4 separate regions of the Homo sapiens genome follow, and regions 1, 2 and 3 are each linked to region 4. Evidence: promoter capture Hi-C in 16 types of primary human blood cells and fetal thymus (Javierre and others, 2016). All regions are on one chromosome and are shown on one strand. The core of a region is centred on a gene start or on the middle of the fragment in contact, and the rest is flanking DNA. Distances in the headings are between cores, read along the strand shown. Region 1 holds the start of SPN (sialophorin). Region 2 holds the start of ZNF771 (zinc finger protein 771). Region 3 holds the start of C16orf54 (chromosome 16 open reading frame 54). Region 4 has its middle 15 kb from the start of ALDOA.

Region 1 (2,700 bases), core at 69-2,568, 390 kb before region 4:
AGCTTGTAGAAATGGCACAGTCCCACGGGCCTGTTAGAATCTTCTATTGTGCACATGTTGCTCTTAAAATATACAAATCAGTTTTGATTTTAAAAAATTATTTATTTTTTTAGTGATAGGAGTTTTGCTACGTTGCCCAGGCTGGTTTCAAACTCTTGGGCTCAGGAGGTCCTCCCACTTTGGCCTGGACTGCCAGCATAATGTATCACCACACCCGGGACTGATTTTCGTTTTTCAAGAACAAAAACCAAAAACATACACAAACCGAGAGTCAAAGCTTGCTAATTAGAGGAAAGTCAGGAAATGGGAACCATTCAAAGAAGAAAATACCCCCACCTCCTACTCTCACCTATCCAAAGACAATTAGGTGAATCCCTTAGTAGATATCTTTCCAGACGGTTTTCCATATAGATTCCCATATCTGGCCAGGCGCGGTGGCTCACACCTGTAATCCTAGCGCTTGGGGAGGCTGAGGCGGATGGACCACCTGAGGTCAGGAGTTCGAGACCAGCCTGACCAACATGGAGAAACCTCGTCTCTACGAAAAATACAAAATTAGCCGGGCACAGTGGTGCAAGCCTGTAATCCCAGCTACTCAGGAGGCCGAGGCAGGAGAATTGCTTGAACCTAGGAGGCAGACATTGTGCTGAGCCGAGCCAAGATCATGCCATTGCACTAAACTCCGCCTTAAAAAAAAAAAAAAAGATTCCCACATCTTTACTAGTTTGCAGAAATAAGATCCTAGCATATGCAGTGTGTAGGAACCACCTTGGTTTAGCCACGTCTCTGTGACTGGGGGCCACTGTGGTGACCCCCAGCTCCCCGGACAGAGTCAAGAGCTCACCAGCCTGCAAAGGTTTTCACGGCCCCCAGCCAGACTCGGGGGCTTCCTCTTGCCCTGCTACTTCCTGGGAGCTCTGAGGGCAGGAAATGGCGCCACTCAGCTCCTGGCCTAACAGCTTGGGGACCACAAATGCAAAGGAAACCACCCTCCCCTCCCACCTCCTCCTCTGCACCCTTGAGTTCTCAGGCTCACATTCCCACCACCCACCTCTGAGCCCAGCCCTCCCTAGCATCACCACTTCCATCCCATTCCTCAGCCAAGAGCCAGGAATCCTGATTCCAGATCCCACGCTTCCCTGCCTCCCTCAGGTGAGCCCCAGACCCCCAGGCACCCCGCTGGCCCCTGAAGGAGCAGGTGATGGTGCTGTCTTCGCCCAGCAGCTGTGGGAGCAGGCGGGTGGGGCAGGATGGAGGGGTGGGTGGGGTGGGTGGAGCCAGGGCCCACTTCCTTTCCCCTTGGGGCCCTGTCCTTCCCAGTCTTGCCCCAGCCTCGGGAGGTGGTGGAGTGACCTGGCCCCAGTGCTGCGTCCTTATCAGCCGAGCCGGTAAGAGGGTGAGACTTGGTGGGGTAGGGGCCTCAGTGGGCCTGGGAATGTGCCTGTGGCTTGAAAAGACTCTGACAGGTTATGATGGGAAGAGATTGGGAGCCATTGGGCTGCACAGGGTCAGGGAAGGCCAGGAGGGGCTGGTCACTGCTGGAATCTAAGCTGCTGAGGCTGGAGGGAGCCTCAGGATGGGGCTGATGGGGGAGCTGCCAGCATCTGTTCCTCTGTCATTTCTGATAACAGTAAAAGCCAGCATGGAAAAAACCGTTAAACCGCAGGTTGGGCCTGGCCGTTGGCAGGGAAGTGGGCAGAGGGGAGGCCCGGCCAGGTCCTCCGGCAACTCCCGCGTGTTCTGCTTCTCCGGCTGCCCACCTGCAGGTCCCAGCTCTTGCTCCTGCCTGTTTGCCTGGAAATGGCCACGCTTCTCCTTCTCCTTGGGGTGCTGGTGGTAAGCCCAGACGCTCTGGGGAGCACAACAGCAGTGCAGACACCCACCTCCGGAGAGCCTTTGGTCTCTACTAGCGAGCCCCTGAGCTCAAAGATGTACACCACTTCAATAACAAGTGACCCTAAGGCCGACAGCACTGGGGACCAGACCTCAGCCCTACCTCCCTCAACTTCCATCAATGAGGGATCCCCTCTTTGGACTTCCATTGGTGCCAGCACTGGTTCCCCTTTACCTGAGCCAACAACCTACCAGGAAGTTTCCATCAAGATGTCATCAGTGCCCCAGGAAACCCCTCATGCAACCAGTCATCCTGCTGTTCCCATAACAGCAAACTCTCTAGGATCCCACACCGTGACAGGTGGAACCATAACAACGAACTCTCCAGAAACCTCCAGTAGGACCAGTGGAGCCCCTGTTACCACGGCAGCTAGCTCTCTGGAGACCTCCAGAGGCACCTCTGGACCCCCTCTTACCATGGCAACTGTCTCTCTGGAGACTTCCAAAGGCACCTCTGGACCCCCTGTTACCATGGCAACTGACTCTCTGGAGACCTCCACTGGGACCACTGGACCCCCTGTTACCATGACAACTGGCTCTCTGGAGCCCTCCAGCGGGGCCAGTGGACCCCAGGTCTCTAGCGTAAAACTATCTACAATGATGTCTCCAACGACCTCCACCAACGCAAGCACTGTGCCCTTCCGGAACCCAGATGAGAACTCACGAGGCATGCTGCCAGTGGCTGTGCTTGTGGCCCTGCTGGCGGTCATAGTCCTCGTGGCTCTGCTCCTGCTGTGGCGCCGGCGGCAGAAGCGGCGGACTGGGGCCCTCGTGCTGAGCAGAGGCGGCAAGCGTAACGGGGTGGTG
Region 2 (2,700 bases), core at 183-2,682, 360 kb after region 4:
ATGAAATATCCCAATTTAATTTTTTTTTTCTTGAGACGGAGTTTCGCTCTTGTTGCCTAGGCTGGAGACCAATGGCATGATCTCGGCTCACTGCAACCACTGCCTCCCCAGTTCAAGCAATTCTCGTGCCTCAGCCTCTCGAGTAGCTGGGATTACAGGCATGCACCACCAAGCTTGGCTAATTTTTGTATTTTTAGTAGAGACGGGGTTTCACCATGTTGGTTAGGCTGGTCTCGAAATCCTGACCTCAAGTGATCCACCGGCCTCCGCCTCCCAAAGTGCTGGGATTACAGGCATGAGCCACCGCGCCCGGCTTTGAAACGATTTTTTTTTTTTTTTTTTTTTTTTTTTTTTGAGACGGAGTCTCGCTCTGTCGCCCAGGCTGGAGCGCAGTGGCGCGATCTCGGCTAACTGCAAGCTCGCCTCCCGGGTTCACGCCATTCTCCTGTCTCAGCCTCCCGAGTAGCTGGCACTACAGGTGCCCGCCACCACGCCCAGCTAATTTTTTGTATTTTGTTTAGTAGAGTCGGGGTTTCACCGTGTTAGCCAGGATGGTCTCTATCTCCTGACCTCGTGATCCGCCCGCCTCGGCCTCCTAAAGTGCTGGGATTACAGGCGTGAGCCGCCGTGCCCGTCCGAAAAGATTTTTTAAAAGTAAAAATACCCTAAGGGCCAAACAAGGTACCCCTGTGGACTGGATTTAGCTTTGGGCTGTTGTTCACCTAGGCTACTGATTGTCAGGGATGCTATGACATCCTTATCGTGTAACTTAGGCAAATCAGTTTACCTCCCTGAACTTCAGTGAGCTCATCTGTAAAATGGATCAGGACCCATCGTTATGCGGATCAAATGAGACCAGGTATGTAAGACGCTGAACAGCGCTGGCGCATGGTAAGCACCCCACGCATGACGCGACAGCGGTAGCTTGGGTGGATGTTGAATTGGTTAGGATGTATTCAAGGATATCCCAGAGGCCAGCGGAATAGGCGAAGCCGAGAAAGATGGAGAAAAGACGGCAGAGGAGATAAAGAGGGAATGGAAGAAGTGAGGAGGCAACAGGGTCCGCCCTCCAGGCGGGGCGCCAGGGAGAGGCCCAGGCCGGGGCGGGAGCGCACGTGGCCTATTTCGGGCGGAGCAGAGGCACTGGGCGCAGCGGAGACCTCCAAGCCGGCCCCAGGAGACGGGCCGCGAGGTTAGGTTGGAACTCGGCGGCAAGGACCTTGAACGCCGGGCTGGGGCGGCTCCAGGTGCTTGGGAGTCGGGGGACTGCGGAGGACGCCAAGTCTGAGCTCGCCGCCCTCTCCGAGCCGTTTGGGCCGGACGCCTGGGTCCTTCGGGCTCCGCCCCAGGGGGTGGGGCTATATGTTCGGACCAATGACCGGCCGTCCCTGCGGTCCCGCCCCCTCCCCGCCCCCGGAGCCGCGGCCTCGCTGAGTGCCCAGCCGCCCGGCGCCCAGGCCTGGGGCACCGCGAGTGCCGAACCTTCGGCTGGTGAGTGCGCACCCCCTCCCCGGGGTTTCCGCCCCGATCCCGCCTCCAGCCCGTGCCCCAGAGCTCCAGGTCGCCGACCCGGGCCCTGGGGAGTGACTCAGCGCAAGGATGGTGGCGACTTGCGGGGGCTGGAGATTCGAACTGTTCAAGGCCTTGAATGCTGGGATGAGTGGGGTGAACGCGAGCCCTCGGAGCTGGTCCCGGGGCTGTGCCAGAGCGTGGGGCCGGGCTGGGGTGGACGGGAGAGGACCAGATTCGGAGACCAGGGCAGGGCGGGAGAAGCCACGGCTGCACTGCCTTGCTGGGCCAGGGCCACGGTGGGCGGGGGGGGGGGTGGGGGGGGGCGGGTCCTGAGCTTCTGATCCAGCTCCCCGCCTCAGGACACCAAGATGCCTGGCGAACAGCAGGCAGAGGAAGAGGAGGAGGAAGAGATGCAGGAGGAGATGGTGCTGCTGGTGAAGGGTGAGGAGGATGAGGGTGAGGAGAAGTATGAGGTGGTGAAACTCAAGATCCCCATGGACAACAAGGAGGTATGTGTCACACACACCCTGGGGCACACTGTCCCCAAACCTGGTCCAGGCCCAGCCTCCCTCAGATAGAAGCCAGGGATCTTGCCCCTACTTTTCCCAGAATCTCGGATCTAAAACCTCAGGATTGGCCCATCCTTCTGCCCTACTGCCTGGGCTTCCATCATACAAAAGTCACGCCTACTGTCCCAGGCTTCCTGCTGGGTGCAGGAGATTAAACTCCGTCCTTGGATCCCCCATGGAGCTTGATGTTAGACTGAAGGGTAACCACACAGTTAGAATCCCGTGTGATGGCTGCAGGTACAGGGGGATGATGAAGCCTAGAAGTGGGAACTTAACTCAGATTTAGAGGTTGGGGAAAGGTCAGGTTAGTTCAACAGCAACAGTAACAATAGCTAACCCTTGCCTAGCATTTTCTATGTGCCAGGCACTGTTCTAAGCACCTCGATTCTATGATGTCGGTAGCATTTATTCCATTTTACAGATGAGGAGACTGAGGCCCAGGGCAGTTTGGTAACTGGCCACAGGTCTCAAAGTAAAAGGATGGCTTATGTGAGACTAGTAGGAGTCTGGGGTCAGAAGTGGGGTGATGGACCCAGTCAGAGGAAATGGCTCTTTTATTATTACTGTTGTTATTGTTTGAGACAGGGTCTCATTCAGTCACCCAAGCTGTAGTGCAGTA
Region 3 (2,700 bases), core at 119-2,618, 300 kb before region 4:
AGGCTCAGGGGCCCGATCTGTCAGCAGGGGGACCGCAGAGCCATACCAGTCCTCAGAGCGCTCTCGGGCGGTGCCCATGGGCTCAATCCACAGCTCTCCTCCTGGGCGCCACACCAGGGTGGGTGCACGGTGGCTGGGGTCTGGGCGGAGAGCACGGCGGAACAGGCGTTCAGCCAACACAGCGGTGGTGAGGATGAAGAGCGCAGCCAGGGTGGCCAGGACCAGCATGATGGGGATGCAGGGCCCACAGGGCAGTGAGGGCCATGGGGCTGCTTCCCATGCGGGGGGCCCCTCCACGCGCCCAGAGGGCGGCTCTGGAGTCAACGGCATCTGAGAGACACAGGGGTGAGAAGAGGAAGTAAATGAGGCAGAGGGGGCACAACCAAGATGAGAGAGAGGCAGCAGGTGTCCAGGAAAGCCTGGGAGAAGGGCTGGGCATGGGGGCTCATGCCTGGAATCCCAGCACTTTGAGAGGTCGAGGCGGGAGGATCACTTGAGCCCAGGAGTTCAAGACCAGCCTGGACACACAGTGAAACCTCATCTCTAAAAATAATTTAAAAACTAGCTGGGTGTGGTGGCTCACACCTGTAGTCCCAGCTACACAGGAAGCTGAGGTGGGAGGATTACTTGAGCCCAGGAGTTTGAAGCTGCAGTGACCCCAGATTGCACCACTGTCCTCCAGCCTGGGCAATAGAGCAAGACCCTTTCTCAAAAATGAAAAAGAACATTCTGGAGAGACAGAGAAGCAAGAGGGACCAGAAAGGGTAAGCGTGAGCCAGGTGGGGTGGGAGGACAGGCAGCCTACCTCGGGGCACAGCCAGGCCCTCCTGCCTGGCTCTCCAGGCCTTTCCAGAATCCCCATTTCCCTCCCAGACCCCAGGGTGCCTCAGACAAGAAAGGTCTCAAGGGCTTCTTTCCTCCCCACTCGGCCCCCTCAAGTCTTGCTCAGACCTAGAGAGGAAGTGGTGGGTGAAGAAATGAGAACCTCCCCTCCCACTGGCTCCCCTGCGTGTGTCTCCCCCACCGCCTGCCGCCAGCACCTCCGCTGGCCCCTTGAGGCTCCTTCGCCCCTCACCATTCTCCTCGGACTTGATCTTGCTCTCATAGGCTCCACGGAATCTGCTGCCGGGCCGGGCCGGGCCAGGCCTCCGGAGGCGCCTCTGCACCCCTCCTGGGCTCCCCAGCTTTGCCCAGGCTCTGGCCTGTCTCTATCTCTCGTTTGTCTCTGCACACCTCTCTGTCCCCCACATCCTCCATCTGCAGGGGGCCTCCTGCACCCCTCAACTCACCTTGGGTCAGTCCCTGGGCTCCTCTCCCTCCTAGAGCCACTCTTCCTGGTGCTGGACTAAGAGGTGCAGGCTTGGAGGGTGCAGGGCGGTCCGCCTCTCAGACGTAGAGGCCCGGCCTCGGATGAAGGCGGAAGGGAGGGCACCGCCTGTTGCTGGGCAACTGTGCCCCAACTCGTCTGCCCCTGGGGAGTGTTTGTTTCCAAAGCAACCCAAGGGGATGTGGTCACTGCGGTGAGGAGGCTTTTCCTGGGGTAAGGTGGGGCTGGAATGGGCAATGGTTCTGTTGAACTTAGTGTCACCCCATAGCCAGGCCCTGAGCCCCAGAACATTCACCGAAAAGCTGAGAAAGAGGACGCCGGGGCCAGGCACAGTGGCTCACCCCTGTAATCCCAGCATTTTGGGAGGTCAAGGTGGGCAAGTCACCTGAGGTCAGGAGTTCGAGACCAGCCTGCCAACATGGCGAAACCCCATCTCTACTGAAAAATACAAAAATTAGCTGGGCATGGTGACGGGCACTTGTAATCTCAGCTGCTCAGGCGGCTGAGGCAGGGAGAATCGCTTGAACCCGGGACTCGGAGGTTGCAGTGAGCTGAGATCGTGCCACCACACTCCAGCCTGGGCAACAGAGTGAGACTCCGTCTTAAAAAAAAAGAAAAGAAAAGAAAAGAAAAAGAAATAGGACACTGGGACTTTAGCCCGTACATTCCCAGAGAACCATGGTGCCTCCCCCGTTCCTCCTGGGAGGATGCCCCACCCCATCCTGCCTTGTCTTATCCACGGTGCCTCCCCAGATCTGCTCCTGCCATGCAGCCCCCACAGGCACCCCCTGCTTGGCCAGCTTGCTTCACACCTTTTTTTTTTTTTTCTGGTAGAGATGGGCTCTTGCTATGTTGCCCAGGCTGGTCTCAAGCTCCTGGCCTCAAGAGATCCTCCTGCCTCAGCCTCCCAAAGTGCTGGGATTACAGGTGTGAGCTACCACACTGGCCCCTGCCTCATACTTTTAATTAACATAAGTCTCTCTCTCTTCAGACCATTTAGCCCCCATTTTGGTTGGAAAATATCAGTGAGGTGAGGCTTGGGTAACAAAAATGTCAAGCCTCTGAGAGGAGTCCAGGGTATAAAAACAGGCGTGGGCCTGTTTCCAAAACCCTGACCATCCTCATGTCTGTCCCTCTTTCCTGCTGCTGAGGGTGGGAGGAGCCTGGAGCAGAGTGTGACAAGATGTCATCAGGCTCTGGAGTCCAGGTGACTTTCTGAGATTCTCTAGTTTGACTCATCCACAGATGACAAAAGTAAGGCTTAAAGAAAAGAGATTTCATGACCAAAGTCGCATGACCAATGTATGTGTGGGTGAGCATGTAGTGGCCAGGGTGGTGGAAGAATAGATAGAAATCCCTGGGCTGGGCGAGGT
Region 4 (2,700 bases), core at 3-2,502:
CTGGGAACTCTGCATCTCTGATCTCCCACCCACCCCACGATTATTGGAAGTATACAATCCTGTCTGCCCTTTCCTAGGGGAAGTGCGGAACTACATATGATACATCTGACATCTCCAGCTTCCAACTTCGGGAGAGGAGACTTTGCGGTTAGCTGGCTATTGTGAAGTCAGTTTTTCTCTGCCCCCAGCAAATGTTGTGATGTGGATAGAAGTGGGGCCTCGGCACAGCCAGGCGCAGTAGCTCACATCTGTAACCCAGCACTTTGGGAGGCCGACGTGGACAAATCACAAGGTCAGGAGTTTAAGACTAGCCTGGCCAACATGGTGAAACCCTGTCTCTACTAAAAATACAAAAATTAGCCGGGCATGGTGGCATGCGTCTGTAATCCCAGCTATTTGGGAGGCTGAGATAGGAGAATCACTCAACTTGGGAGGCAGAGGTTGCAGTGCGCTGAGATCGCACCACTGCACTCTAGCGTGGGCAACAGAGCAAGACTCCATCTCAAAAAAAAAAAAAAAGAGAAAGAAAAGAAATGGGGCCTTGGCAAAGTGGGGTGCATACATCATCCCTTGTCTTGGCTTGCCTGGCAACACACAAGCCTGGGGCACTGCCCGTGCTCCTGCATAATGTATGAGCCCATGGTAGGAACAAAACACCAGCACCAGCGAGTCTGGGCACTGCAGGCCACGGACGTGTCCAGGGGCCTTGCCAAGGCTGAAGTCTCTCTGTTGGCAGAATATGCAGAATATGTGTTCCTGGAGGCCTTTTGTAGGGCTGAGGTGAGAACTGGCCTCAACTTGGTCCTCAGGATTCCATCAGACAATAAGACCGCCCAAGGCCGGGCACAGTGGTTCACGCTTGTAATCCCAGCAATTCGAGAGGCTGAGGCAGGAGGATCGCCTGAGCCCAGGAGTTCAAAAACAGCCTGAGCAATACAGTGAGACCCCGTCTATACAAAAAATTTTAAAAATTAGCTGGGTGTCGTAGCATGCACCTGTAGTCTCAGCTACTTGGGAGACTGAGGTGGAAGGATCCCTTGAGCCAGGAGGTCGAGGCTGTTGTGGTGAGCCATGATTGTGCCATTGCACTCCAGCCTGGGCTACCGAGTGAGACTCTGTCTCAAAAAAAACAAAAACAAAAACAAAAACCGGAAGACAGCCTAAGAAGACAATCTTCTTTAGGATCAATAATGGTGACATTAGCAACAGCTAGACTTCTGTTTTCTGGGCTTGAAACGCCCTCTGAGAGGGCCAGGGGTGGCCAAGAGGGTGGCTGAGACCACCTCAGTATGGTTGACAGTGGGAGGGAAGATTTGGATCCAGGGACACAGCCCCTGGCAGTTTCCGTGGCTGCCTCATGGTGTAGGAAACCCCAGGAGCAGCAGCTGTGGTGAGGTATGTTGGGGTGGAGAACATGGACAAAAATAGGTATATGGTGGCATTGTTTTTAGGGGAAAATGCCAGGATTCAGCCATCGTTTAGGAAGTCGGAGGCCTCCATAGAGAGGGGTGCTTGTGTGAGCGTGCATGTGTGGGTGTGTGCAAGTGTCTGTGTGTGTGTGATCTAAAAAGGTTAGGAATGAAACGGGGAGGTCTGAGTGCCTTGAAAGCCAAGGAAATTAGGACGTGTGGAAAACAATGCTTCATTCGTGGATGGTGTTTGGTTTCAATTCATTCATAGAATCAGTGAGTATTGGCTGAGTGCAGTGGCTCTGGCCTGTAATACCAGCAACCTGGGAGGCCGAGGTGGGAGGATCATTTGAGGCAGGAGTTGGAGACTAGCCTGGCCAACATAGTGAGACCCCATGTCTACTTTATTAAAAGAAAAAAACAGGCCAGGCGCAGTGGCTCACACCTGTAATCCCAGCACTTTGGGAGGCCAAGGCGGGCAGAACACCTAAGGTCGGGAGTTCGAGACCAGCCTGACCAACATGGACAAACCCCGTCTCTACTAAAAATACAAAATTAGCTGGGCATGGTGGCACTTCCAGCTACTCTGGAAGCTGAGGCAGGAGAATTGCTTGAATCCAGGGCGGAGGTTGCAGTGAGCTGAGATCACACCATTGCACTCCAGCCTGGGCGACAAGAGCAAAACTCCGTTTCAAAAAAAAAAAAAAAAAAGAAAAGAAAAGAAAAAAGAAAGAAAGAAAGAAAAAGAATCAGTGAGTATTCACCAAGGCTCCCAGGGCTAGGCCAAGTACTAGAGCTCAGGATACGGAGATGACTCAGACCAGGCCCCAGACACTTGCAGTCTAATTGTGGAGCCAGACATGGAAGTGAGGAATTCAAGTATCTTGTGAGAAGTGCGAGAACAACAGTATCTGTAGGATGCTGTGGGAATTCACAGTCCAAAGCAGCCACCTCTGCCTGAGGTTGGCAGGGAGACCTCACAGAGGCAAAACTGAGGACGTGCTTGAGGGATGAGGAAGAGGTTTGAGGGGAAGACAGAGGGTGTTCCAGGCAGAGGGATCAGCAACTGCAAAGCTGTGGAAATGTGAGACCCTACACACTGGTTCAGGAAGCTTCAGCAGATCCTACTGAAGGTGGCTTATGCCTGTAATCCCAGCTACCTGGGAGGCTGAGGCTGGAGGACTGCTTGAGCCCAGGAGTTCAAGACCAGCCTTAACAACATAGCAAGACCACATCTCTAAAAATTCAGAAAAAAAGGCTGGGCACAGTGGCTCATGCCAGTAATCCTAGC

The links. Contacts are between HindIII fragments. The CHiCAGO score rates a contact against its expected background, and 5 or more counts as called.
Region 1: a contact is called between the fragment with the promoter of SPN here and a fragment that was not itself captured in region 4, in 10 of 17 cell types (naive CD4 T cells, activated CD4 T cells, naive CD8 T cells and 7 more). The highest score is 7.5, in naive CD4 T cells.
Region 2: a contact is called between the fragment with the promoter of ZNF771 here and a fragment that was not itself captured in region 4, in 7 of 17 cell types (fetal thymus, total CD4 T cells, naive CD8 T cells and 4 more). The highest score is 9.3, in fetal thymus.
Region 3: the fragment with the promoter of C16orf54 here is called in contact with a fragment that was not itself captured in region 4 in 7 of 17 cell types (M1 macrophages, activated CD4 T cells, naive CD8 T cells and 4 more); the score reaches 7.9 in M1 macrophages.

What each region holds. Positions count from the first base shown.
Region 1 is chr16:29,661,929-29,664,628 of GRCh38, forward strand. SPN (sialophorin) reads left to right here and starts at 1,319. Exons shown (of 2, transcript NM_003123.6): 1 at 1,319-1,388; 2 at 1,767-2,700. The coding sequence starts at 1,801. RefSeq lists enhancers at 34-83, 724-803 and silencers at 984-1,043, 2,304-2,423. The HindIII fragment of the contact is 6,496 bases long and covers 276-2,700 here.
Region 2 is chr16:30,406,174-30,408,873 of GRCh38, forward strand. It overlaps ZNF771 (zinc finger protein 771), which reads left to right and starts at 1,433. Exons shown (of 3, transcript NM_001142305.2): 1 at 1,433-1,491; 2 at 1,872-2,021. The coding sequence starts at 1,881. RefSeq lists silencers at 1,157-1,336, 1,359-1,568. The HindIII fragment of the contact is 8,204 bases long and covers 172-2,700 here.
Region 3 is chr16:29,744,622-29,747,321 of GRCh38, forward strand. C16orf54 (chromosome 16 open reading frame 54) reads right to left here and starts at 1,369. Exons shown (of 2, transcript NM_175900.4): 1 at 1,290-1,369; 2 at 1-330. The coding sequence starts at 330. It overlaps LOC124903673 (a long non-coding RNA gene), which reads left to right and starts at 626. Exons shown (of 2, transcript XR_007065046.1): 1 at 626-764. RefSeq lists enhancers at 1,659-1,708, 2,236-2,305. The HindIII fragment of the contact is 10,190 bases long and covers 1-2,700 here.
Region 4 is chr16:30,049,420-30,052,119 of GRCh38, forward strand. It overlaps a transcript of TLCD3B not described here. Among named protein-coding and RNA genes, the nearest start is that of ALDOA, 15 kb to the right of the region's middle. The HindIII fragment of the contact is 2,534 bases long and covers 1-2,519 here.